Linked DNA regions of Homo sapiens: regions 1 and 2 are each linked to region 3. The links are contacts of gene promoters, found by promoter capture Hi-C in blood cells and fetal thymus (Javierre and others, 2016). All regions are on one chromosome and are shown on one strand. The core of a region is centred on a gene start or on the middle of the fragment in contact, and the rest is flanking DNA. Distances in the headings are between cores, read along the strand shown. Region 1 holds the start of LOC124903341 (a long non-coding RNA gene). Region 2 overlaps SLC8A3 (solute carrier family 8 member A3). Region 3 holds the start of COX16 (cytochrome c oxidase assembly factor COX16).

Region 1 (3,746 bases), core at 163-2,662, 460 kb after region 3:
TGACTCACTGTGTGGTCTAGGACAATTTACTTAGCCTCTCTGTTAAGTCTTGGTTTCTTCAAGTGCAAAATGGAGATTTTAAATAATCCTAACTACCTCCTAAACTAGCTTAGAGATTAACTGAGATAATACGGAGGCAGCCCTAAGAGCAGTGCCTAGAACATAGTGAGCCCTCAATAAAGGCAGAAGGGATCGTACTACCTGGTTGGGACTTTTTAGCCAATTTTACTAATAAGGAAACGGAAGCCCAGGGAGTTTATTCAGTGTGGCTAAGTACTAAGGAACAGTACTAAGGAACAGAAGCCCAAGACCCAATCAGGGGTTCCTGCTTCTGACTCCAAAGCTTTTCCCACTCAGAATCCACTTCCTTAGGGAGTGTGGGTTTTATGTTAAAACAAGCCAAACTTTCGCACCGGCTCTTCTGGTGTCTCCTAGCTTTGCTTCTGAGAAAGGACAGCTGAGGTTGGAGGGAATAACAGCAAAAATAATTGACATTCTTGGGTCCATCGGTCGGTGTGCCGGGCCTGTGCCAAGGACTTCACCTGCCCTTCCCATTCAATATTCACCAAAAAACCTATGTGCTAGGTACTTTGAATAACCACTTTATATAAAAAGTGGGGTGCAGAGCCACTAAGCAAGCAGGGGTGGCGTGTGTCGGAGCCAGAATCCATTATCGGCTCTCTGATCAGTTTACCCCCAGGAGGACCTTTCCCCGACCCCCTACCCCGCCGGGAGCAGCCTATCTTCGTGCAAAATGCACCGAGCTACATACAGAGGCTGCCTTCCAGGACTCAGCGCGGAGGGTTAGGCTGCCTCGAACCCCATTCTGGTAACTCCATCCCAGCTGGGACGCCGGGCCCTCTCCGCCCCTTGCGGCCCACCCCTCCCCTTCTGCCCCCCAACACGGGGACCGGGCGGGCTCTCGGTCGGCGCCACCGCGCCCCCGCATCAGGATCCTCGGCGCTGACGTTCTCTCCCCAGGGGGAGGAGGGGCCCAGGAAGGGTTAGGTCCGCAGCCAGTGCGGAGAAAGGGCCCTGGGCTCGGCTCCCACGCTCGGGCAGGCCTCCCGCCGGGGGATCGGAGCTGCGGTCACTCGCGGCTTCGGGGCCGTGGCGTCCCGCGCACAGCTTCCGCGCCTCTGCAAGGCGGTGAGTCGTTTCTTCCCGGCACAGGAGGGACAGTTTCCCCACGTGGACGCGGGGCTGGCAGCGGGAGGGGCAATAGCGCTGGCGGAGCTTAGGGTTTCGCGGGAGCAACCAGCGCGCGCCTCTCTCTCTCCCCTCCCCTCGCTCGCGCTCGCTCTCCCCCGCCCTCTGTCTCTCCCCTCTCTCTCTCTCGCTTTCCCCCCACTCTCTTGCTTTCCCCCTTCTCTCTCTCTTCCCCTCTCCTCTCGCTCGCTCCTCGTCTCCCCTGGCTCTCTCGCTCTCCCCTCTCCCCGTCTCCCCACGCTCTGTCTCGCTCTCCCCCGTCTCTCTCCCTCCCCCTCTCCTCCCGCTCTCTCTCGCTCTCCTCTCTCTTCTCCCCGACCCCCTTGCGTTCTCTCTTTTTCTCTCTTCCCTCGCTCTCCCCTCCCCTGCCCCGTCCCTCTCCTCTCCCCTCTCCCCACATCTCTCTCGTTCGCCCCTCTCTCCCCTCTTCGCCCTCTCTCTCTCCTTCCTTCTTCCCACCCTCTCTTCCTCCGTCTCTCCCTCCCCGCCTCCTTTCCTCCTTCCCTTCACCCCCACTTTCCTTCTTCCCTCCTCCTCTCCTCCTCCCCTCCTCCCCTCCTTCCTTCCTCCCCTCCTCCCTTCCTCCGCCCCCTCCTCTTACAGGGAAGGATGCCCTCGGTTTCGCTGCGCTCTCCCAGGAGCGAACTCCCGCAGCCGCTCAGGCCAGCGCCAGAGACCTTGTCCCTACCAAGGCGGGCCGCGCCCCTTGGTGGGCTGGGCTCAGGGAGCGCGCTTTGCACGCTTCAGATGTCTTTGTGGGAAGCCTGGGAGTAGCTAGGTGTGAATGTGCTGCCCTTAATTTAAGCCACCAGTTGTAAATATGTGTTCTAGTGCATATTAATAACTCTCCCTCGACCCACTCGCCTCCTGCCACTCCAGTTGCTCCAACAGGGACCCCCTCTTCCCTTCCCTCGGGCCAGCAGCTCTTCCTGTACAGGAGAAGCGATCTGGGTAGCTCAGGAGCTGCCTGTAGGTCTGCGTATGGCCTGTTTCTCTTTCTTCCCCTCTGTCCCACACTCTCCGCTCACTCCTGTCTCCCTGCTGTCACTCTGCAGCTATGACACTAGATCACTAATAAGGGTAGGTGAGAAGGAAAGGGAAGAGGAAAAGAAAATAACAGCCATTTATTCTGATAAACCCTCAACATGTGACACCTGGGTTCCTTCCAGGCATTTGCTGTGAAAATAGGTGGTCCTGGTTCTCAGTAGTCCCAAAGCCTCTAGTCCGGATGGGGGTAGAATTGCCGCAGATGCGGAATCCACTAACAGTCGAGGAAGCTTATCTTCCTGGAAGCCTTCAGCCTCCCACTCCCACCTCTGCCCCATTCTGTTTGCTTCCTCCCTGTCTCAGCTTCTGCTTCTCTCCTTTTTATAACCTGCTGCTAAGAAAAGTCTGAAAACTTGAATTATAAATACATAATATATCAAGTATTGCCTGAAATAGAGATTTGAAACCTAAAAGGGAGGAAAGAAAAGAAGCATCTTGAATTCTAGGAGAAGCAGTCCTGGGTGCCGCGTCCCCAAGGACTGGCTGCAGCTTCTCTCGGCCGCGGTTGCCTCATTTATAACATGGGGATACCCATCCATACCAACCATGGTGCAGGGGATTGCACCAGATCATTCTCACATCTCTTCCAGCTCTGAAGAAATGGAGGTGAACAGAGGAACAGCCACTCCCAGCAAGCAAGGGAAGAAGAATCTTGAAAGCCTGTGACTTCACAGAGACTTCTTGATTGATGCCCCTGAAATCAGCCTGCCAAGTGTGGCCTCTGCAGCATAAATACAAGGAGTCTGATGACACAAGACGGCGTCTGATGATAGTTCTGTCACCCTCAGCCATATTATAATTCCATGTCCTCGTAGTCACCCTGCCATAATCCCACCATTTCCTGCAAACACAGCTTCTCCTGCCTGATGAAGTCTTACCTATCCTTTAAGACCTAGCTCCGACCGGGTGCAGTGGCTCATGCCTGTAATCCCTGCACTTTGGGAGGCCGAGGCAAGTGAATCACTTGAGCCCAAGGAGTTCTGAGACCAGCATAGGCAATATGGCAAAACCCCAGCTCTACAAAAAAAAAAAAAAAAAAAATTAGTTGGGCATGGTGGTGCACGCCTGTAGTCCCAACTACTTGGGAGGCTGAGGTGGGAGGATTGCTTGAGCCCAGGAGATCAAGACTGCAGTGAGCTGAGATCATGCCACTGCACTCCAGCCTGGGTGACATAGTGAGACACCATCTCAAAAAAAAAAAAAAAAAAAAAAAAGGTCCACACTCTGGGGAGCCTTTCCTGACTATCCTGAGGATACAGGGGATGCTTCCTCTGTGGGTTCCCACAGGATCGACCCACACTTAGATCCCTCACCACTTTACTCTGCCATTTACTCCCCTCCCTTGACCATCAGTCTTTGAGGAAAGGGACTTTGCCTTCTTCATCGTTGCCTGGCACAATTCTTGCTTTTCCTACCTTGAATGAAAAGAGATGATAATCCTATGTAATGACAAATGACTTAGATTTTCTCATTTAACCCTCACACAACTC
Region 2 (3,482 bases), core at 660-3,159, 270 kb before region 3:
CCCTTGAGAATAGAATTCATCTAGGTAGGTTTTCTGGGGAAGCCAGTGCCCACCAGTCTCCTGTGGATACTGCTCTTTCTTTCCTAAGGATTGCTTTAGAAGCAAATCCCTGAGAGCTGTGTCAGCTAGGATAACTCTCTCTGCTACTCTCAGGTAACGGCTCCTTCCCCATCAGGCTATCAATGCTTCTCCTGCTGCTTCTGACACCTGAGTCACTGGACTCAACATTGAAGACCTGGCTCATAGGTTTCCTGCCAGCATCCTGCGTGGCTTTAGTGGCCCAAGATAACTTATTATAAATCCTTGGCCCTCAGTTCCTTGACCTTTTCCCTTTTAATAGCCTCAACCTTTACTTTACCCATCCACTCTCAAGTCTACACCCTGAGCATTATCATCACCTAGAACTACTCCTCATCAGAGAAATCAAATTCAAACATTCCATAGCTGAACTTCTTATTTTCTTTACCAAAGCTTCTTCTCCTCCTTTAATCCCTATGTCAGTGGATGGTACCACTATGCATTCTTGCCTGCATTCTGGCTTCCTCTCCAGACTACCCCCATTTCCAATCAGGAACCAGATCCTGTTCTTTTTACCTACTTCTACCTCATGAACACATTTTCTTTTTTTCATTCCCTGCTAAAACTCTCATATATTGGCCACCATCACCTCTGGCCTGGATTCTAGTAACAGTCTCCTAACTTATATTCCTGACCTGATTTGTACCCACTCAACTTCACTCACCCAACACAGCTGAAGTTATCTGTTCAAGTGGCAAACCTCAGTATGCTCTTCCTTCCCTCCAAATTTTGAATGGTAACTCCTCTGTCCTCCAAACTTCTTAGCATGCTGAAAGAGGCCTTTTTCTAGAATGTTGTTACTTGTTCTCTTCCTTGCCCAGTTCCACACATCCTCCCCATCTCAGACACCATCTTCTCTGAGATGCTTTTCCCAACTTCCTTAGACTGATTTGGGGAGCCTCCCACAGCTGGTGTTTGCCTTTGGGATGGCACTTAACATACTAAATACTCAATTGAAATTACTTGTTTATAAGACCACCTCCAGCATGAAGAACAGTTTCCAAACCATAACAGGAGCTCATAAATGCTTATGAAATGAATGAAAAGAGATGCAAGTGAGAAACATTTTGAATATAAGAAGGGGAAGTAAGACAAAGTAAAAGATAAATTTAAGGTTTGCTACTGGGTGAAAGAGGTGGGGATTGTGGAGCAATGGGCAGAGGAAGAACTTCCAGAAGAGAAGAAGCAGGTTTTGAAAATGACACTTTCAAGTTGGGCATGCTGACTTGGAGAATGACTAGATATGAGGGAACAGAGCCAGGAAACACAGATTTGGGACTTAGACACAAAGAAGGTATCTTTGAATCCATCTGTGTAGATGATGTGTTTAATACATATTGTGTGGCTTCATTACACCGTCGAGCCATTGTGACTTCCGTTTGCTGTTTTCATGCAATATGATGCTTGTTTTTTAATTGGCTTCTACCAATTTTCCCCCAAAAGATAATTTCTTTGATCAACACATTGGCTGACTATTGATTCATACATTTCTATTTATTTATAGAGAGAGGAGCAGAGGACCAAGATTTGTATACGCAGGAAATTTTACCAATTATCCAGGTAATTCAGGTATAAATTAGAGAGTTTTTTTCTTAATTTTTGAAATAATTATTTTCATTGTTTCTGATTTTGAAGATCTGCGGGGATGTTTTTCTCCTGTAACTACCCTTTCTGTCTTTTTTTTTAACATATTTTGCTAACTGCAGCCATTAATTACCTCATCACACAATCAAGCCATTGTGACTTTTGTTTGCTGTTTTTATGCAGCCTGATGCTTGTTTTTCAATTGCCTTCTACTGTTTTCCCCGAAAGATAATTTCTTTGATCAACACATTGGCTGACCATTGATTTATGCATGTTTTACCAGAAATATTCTTGCTTGATCTCCCTCCTACCTCCTCTAAGTTGATTTCCCATTAAGGAATACTGTGTTCTGAATTTTATTCTCTTCCCTTCCAAGTGAATAATTATCAGTACTTAAACTATCACGTCATATGCGCATGTCCTCCTGCCTACTAATTAATTTCAGAAGCTCAGTGCCCGTTCACAGATAAAAGAACGGTGCATTGGTACTTCACAGGGGTCACATTTTACCCCTAGAACCCCAAATCAGTCCACATTTTCCTAATCGTGGTATACAGGTTTGATTTAGTAAAGTCACAATTATCTTTCAGAGTTGAAATATAAACATAAAGGCGCTTCATGAATCTAATCATATTCCTTCCTGCCACAGGAAGAACCTTCAGTCTTTTGGAAAAACTTGTATATATATAGTGGTTCTTATTCCAAATAAGTTAAATATAGTGAATTCCTGATTCATATAGAAGTATTACAATATTTCCTTGATGAATTTGTATAGCTGGAAGCAGATCTGCCATGAAATGTGAAACCGCATCCCACTTGTGTGAGCTGCCCTGGTCAAATGTGTAAATCTCTAAGTGTAGCAAAATCTCCCTTTGCTCTAGGAAGTAGTTCTTAGCTTTTTGGGGGATCACAAACTGCTTCGATAATTCAGGTGCTTCTTACCAGAAAAATGCACATACTCACACACAATATTTTGTATATAATTTCAGGGGGTTCAAAGATCTTTGAAAACCTAGCCATCAATCCTCTAAAGGTCCATGGAGTGCCAGTTGACAACCCCTGGACTAAGAGCTAAAGATCAATTATTGATGGATGAGGGATTTCATAAACCTCAGAATGTGAGGAAAACAGCTGCAACGATAATGTGCACTGCTGGGCAGCAGCTACAACTCGCAGCAGGAGATGCACGGCTTGTATATAGTCAAGCCCAGCATGGCACTGAGTGGGCTGCCATCTTCCTTTCTGCAGGACATCACGTTTTCTACTCATTTTATTATGGGATTTAATTTTATGGCAGCAGAGCTCTGATTTTATAATGGAAACCAACACAAAATAGCTCCTTTTTTAATAACAAAAATTTGTCTTACAATCATTTCAGCTAAAACAAACTCGGCTTTTAGCAGGAGGGAGAATGGGAAAGGAGGAAGCTCCTGTGTTAAAAGAGCTGCTCTCTTTGCCTCTTCTCCCTTCCTTCCTACAAACCCTGGCTCTTCACTTTCTTTAATATCGTATACCCCCTTGACTCCTACTCTCTTTTATTAGGTCTCATTTCATTTTCTTGAAGCTGGTACTTGAATATCCTATATCAGTTTCAATCTTTCAATGTCTACTATTGATCTCATTTCATATTGCTTTGCAGATATCTGGTGTCGGAGCCACGCACCCCTCCCTTGAATCCTAACAGGGAAGCTTGGTGCTTTTGATCATTTGAATCACCATCTTTTACGTTCTATTTTAACTTGAGGCAACATAATCTCCCTCTTTCAATACTTACTTCAAACTTAGCTGATCTTTGATTTTTCGAAGTCATGTTTAGAAGT
Region 3 (3,546 bases), core at 448-2,947:
CAACCCAAATGTTCATCAATTGATAAAATATATCCAAACAATGGAATTATATCCATCAAAAGGAATGAAGTATTGATATATGTTACAATGTGAATGAACCTTAAAAACATTCTAAGTGGAAGAATCCAGTCACAAAAAACCCACGTTGTATTAGTGTGTTAATATGAAATGTGCAGAATAAGCAAATTTACGGGTAGAAGTAGATTAGTGGTTTACCAGGCCAGCATTAAGAGGCAGGAAGAAATGGGAAGTGACTACTATTAGTTATGATGCTTTTTTGGGGGCAATGAAAATGTTCTAAAATTGTGGTGATGGCTCCATAACTAAGAATATACTAATATACGAATATATTAGTATACTAATATCGAATTTGCTAAAAACAACAATTTTTTTTTTTTTTTTTTTTTTTGGAGAGACAGAGGTCTTGCTGGTTTGGAACTCCTGACCTAAAGCGATCCTCCTGTCTTGGCTTCCCCTAACACTGGGATTACAGGTGTGAGCCATCGTGCTTGGCCCAGATACTTCAAATGGGTGAATCTTTTGGAGATTCCTAAAATCCACATTTGATGAATGTGGATTTTTCAAAACTGTGTAAAATATCCATTACCTTTCTAAGATCACTTCTTTCCTTTAGTCTGCTTAAATGGAAAAGCTGGTAATTTCATCTGCGCCAACATTCATACAAAATAAAAATATAGTCTGTATTTAAAAGCAGCTTTTGTTCATATGCTTTAATTATTTCATTTACTAACACATCAAGGCTTGCTGAAGCAAAATAACTGGCCCGTAATCAAAAAGCAAATAAGAGTCATCTGGATTTCAACTCTGGTTGTCTTAAGCCAGCCTCAGCCTGCATTTCATGACATCCTTAGGGAACTCAGTGTGGATATGGATGAAACCATATAAACACGGAAGCTGTTTTCAACGTGCTTTAGAAATTATAACACAGCAATCATTCTGGCTACAATGTGGCAGGCACCGTACTCAACACTTTATTCACAAGGTGTTATTAGTTCATCACAACTCTAAGTATTAAGCTAATTCACAAACTAGAAAGATGAAACAGAAAGATACCAGGAATTCGTGCAGTTAAATGGAATACATCTAGTCCCAATGATCCACAGTATCGTCAAAACATAGCTAAGTTGGGGGCGAGGAAGCAAGCTTAGTAATCATCCAAACTTGGCTTAAAGTGTGGTTCTGACTGAATTCTCTGAGCTTCAATTTACTTAACTGTGAATCAAGGGTAGTAACAATGACCGCGTTCGACGATGGGAAAGACGCCACGCTCACAAGCAGACAGATCCTAGTACACCTGAAATCCAACCGGGAGTGGGGGACAGCGGCGGGGAAGTGGGGGTGTGGAAAAGACTGGTGGAAGAGCTTTTAGGAAAGCTCTCACCCCGTCGCTAGCTCCTTCCTAGCCCGAGTGCCAGCCCTTAACTTCACATTTTACAGATTCCCTCCCAGGTCTTGATCCTGCCAAGGAGGAGGGTCCCACCCCTTGCGGAAGATCCTCCTCACTCCACTCACCAACATGGGGACTCCATAGCCGAGAGTCTTGTTCTTGCGAAAAGCACGCATCACCGCGGGTGCAAACATGAGTGAACTCTTCCATCGGCTCAGAACTCCAAGCGGGCCTAGCGCAGACTCCCAAATCTCAGCAGCTCACGCTCTCACCAAGACGAGTACGTCCTTAACTCACTTCCTTTTCCTTGGTTATTTGGTGCTCGGTCCTTAGTGAATGGTTTCCGCTAGGCAAAAGCAATCGAGCCATCGTAACATACTTGTGCGTCCGCCCAGAAATGTGGGCGTCAGCGTTTTTGGTTCCGTAACGTCGGCGTGCAATTGGGATTTAGAGATTTGAATCGGTTTACGATCACCACCAAATTGATCTGGAAACCAGTACTTCCCACGTTCTGGGTCCTAACTAACGTCTGCTTAGAACACTCCCTTAGGCACATAGCCACTCGATAAAATCAGCTAAGGAAAAAAGTATTTTGAGGCCGGGCGCGGTGGCCTGGGTGGGTGGCCTGTAATCCCAGCACTTTGGGAGGCCGAGGCCGGTAGATCACCTGAGGTCAGGAGTTCTAGATCAGCCTGGTCAACATGGTAAAACCCCGTCTCTATTAAAAAAAAAAAATACAAAAATTAGCCGGGCGTGGTGGCAGGCGCCTGTAATCCCAGCTACTGGGGGGCCGAGGCAGGAGAATCGCTTGAACCCGGGAGGCGGAGGTTGCAATGAGCAGAGATCGCGCCATCGCACTCCAGCCTGGGGAACAAGAGCGAGACTTCGTCTCAAAAAGAAAAAAGAAAAAAAAGTATTTTGAAGCTGGTACTCCAGTCTTTATGGCTATTTGTGGGATGAGGAATTTGCCAGTTTAATGGAGACTTTTAAAAATAAATCGCTTTTGAAAGATTAGGTTGAAATGTAATCAGTGTAGTGTCTCATCAGTCATTACTGAACTTTTAATGCTAATGATTTTACTGTGAGATAACCTGTAATCTTTAGTCATTTATGAATGTCTATTTACCAATGATTCAGCAACCATACAGGCCACCTTTCAGCGTGTCTTTGAAAGGGTTCTAGGAACACAGATAAAAATATATGATCCTTACCTTAAAGACACTGGCGATTTCATGGGCACAGAAACAAACATGTGTGAAGTACTGGGATAGCTTAGGAAGCCGATCCCCCACGTGTCCCATTTACCAGAGTGAATCAGAGTGCAGGTGATGCGGAATATTATCTTCCATGCTATTCCTGAAATATTTCCATCTGTCCCTGCCTCTCTGTTACCACTGAAATGTTCCTTTTTTTAATTCCTTATCATCTTTTCACCTATTAAAGTAGCCTCTTAAGTGGTCTCCAGAAGAGAAGCTCCAGATCTACTGCAGGCTACTCCAGTGAAACTTATCCTTTTGGCTAAGATCAAGTGTAGTATCTGTTCTTAACAGTTTAATATTTGACACATTCTCTATCCAAGGAAAATATGTTAAATGGGTTTTTGAAGCAAGGAGATGGAATAGGAGTTTGCTCCACCACTCTACACATCAACCTGTATTTCAATACCTCCAGAAACCCAGGAACGGTGCATCTCTCCCATCTTATTTACTTCCTTTTGATATTTCAAAATTCATGCAGACCAGGCATGGTGGCTCATGCCTGTAATACCTGCAGTTTGGGAGGCTGAGGCAGGAGGATCATTTGAGCCCAGGAGTTCGAGACCAGCCTGAGCAACAAAGCAAGACCCCATCTTTACAAATAATAATAATAATAATAAATTAGCCAGGCATGGTGGGGTCTCAGCTACTTGGGAAGCTGAGGTGGGAAGATCACTTGAGCCCAGGAGGTCCAGGCTACAGTGAGCCGTGATCATGCCACTGCACTGCAGCCTGGGTGACACAGCTAGACCCTGTTTCAAAAATAAATAAATAAATCTCACGTGGCATCCAGGTTAGTTAAGCGTATCACATCTCCTACTTTCCCTAAGATCCTAGAAGCCAAAGGCGCTGCTCTAAAACTCTAGCGTTTTCCTACATCTT

What was found. Contacts are between HindIII fragments. The CHiCAGO score rates a contact against its expected background, and 5 or more counts as called.
Region 1: a fragment that was not itself captured here is called in contact with the fragment with the promoter of COX16 in region 3 in 2 of 17 cell types (total B cells and naive B cells); the score reaches 6.6 in total B cells.
Region 2: a fragment that was not itself captured here is called in contact with the fragment with the promoter of COX16 in region 3 in 1 of 17 cell types (erythroblasts); the score reaches 5.4 in erythroblasts.

The regions. Positions count from the first base shown.
Region 1 is chr14:70,820,974-70,824,719 of GRCh38, forward strand. It overlaps LOC124903341 (a long non-coding RNA gene), which reads left to right and starts at 900. Exons shown (of 2, transcript XR_007064246.1): 1 at 900-1,149; 2 at 2,847-3,011. RefSeq lists a silencer at 820-1,019. The HindIII fragment of the contact is 2,143 bases long and covers 342-2,484 here.
Region 2 is chr14:70,088,288-70,091,769 of GRCh38, forward strand. All of the region lies in intron 2 of SLC8A3 (solute carrier family 8 member A3), which reads right to left. Among named protein-coding and RNA genes, the nearest start is that of SLC8A3, 99 kb to the right of the region's middle. The HindIII fragment of the contact is 2,880 bases long and covers 470-3,349 here.
Region 3 is chr14:70,357,986-70,361,531 of GRCh38, forward strand. COX16 (cytochrome c oxidase assembly factor COX16) reads right to left here and starts at 1,698. Exons shown (of 4, transcript NM_016468.7): 1 at 1,534-1,698. The coding sequence starts at 1,602. The region is part of intron 3 of SYNJ2BP-COX16 (SYNJ2BP-COX16 readthrough); the gene reads right to left. It also overlaps the pseudogene RNU2-51P. RefSeq lists enhancers at 1,418-1,727, 2,188-2,277. The HindIII fragment of the contact is 4,146 bases long and covers 1,163-3,546 here.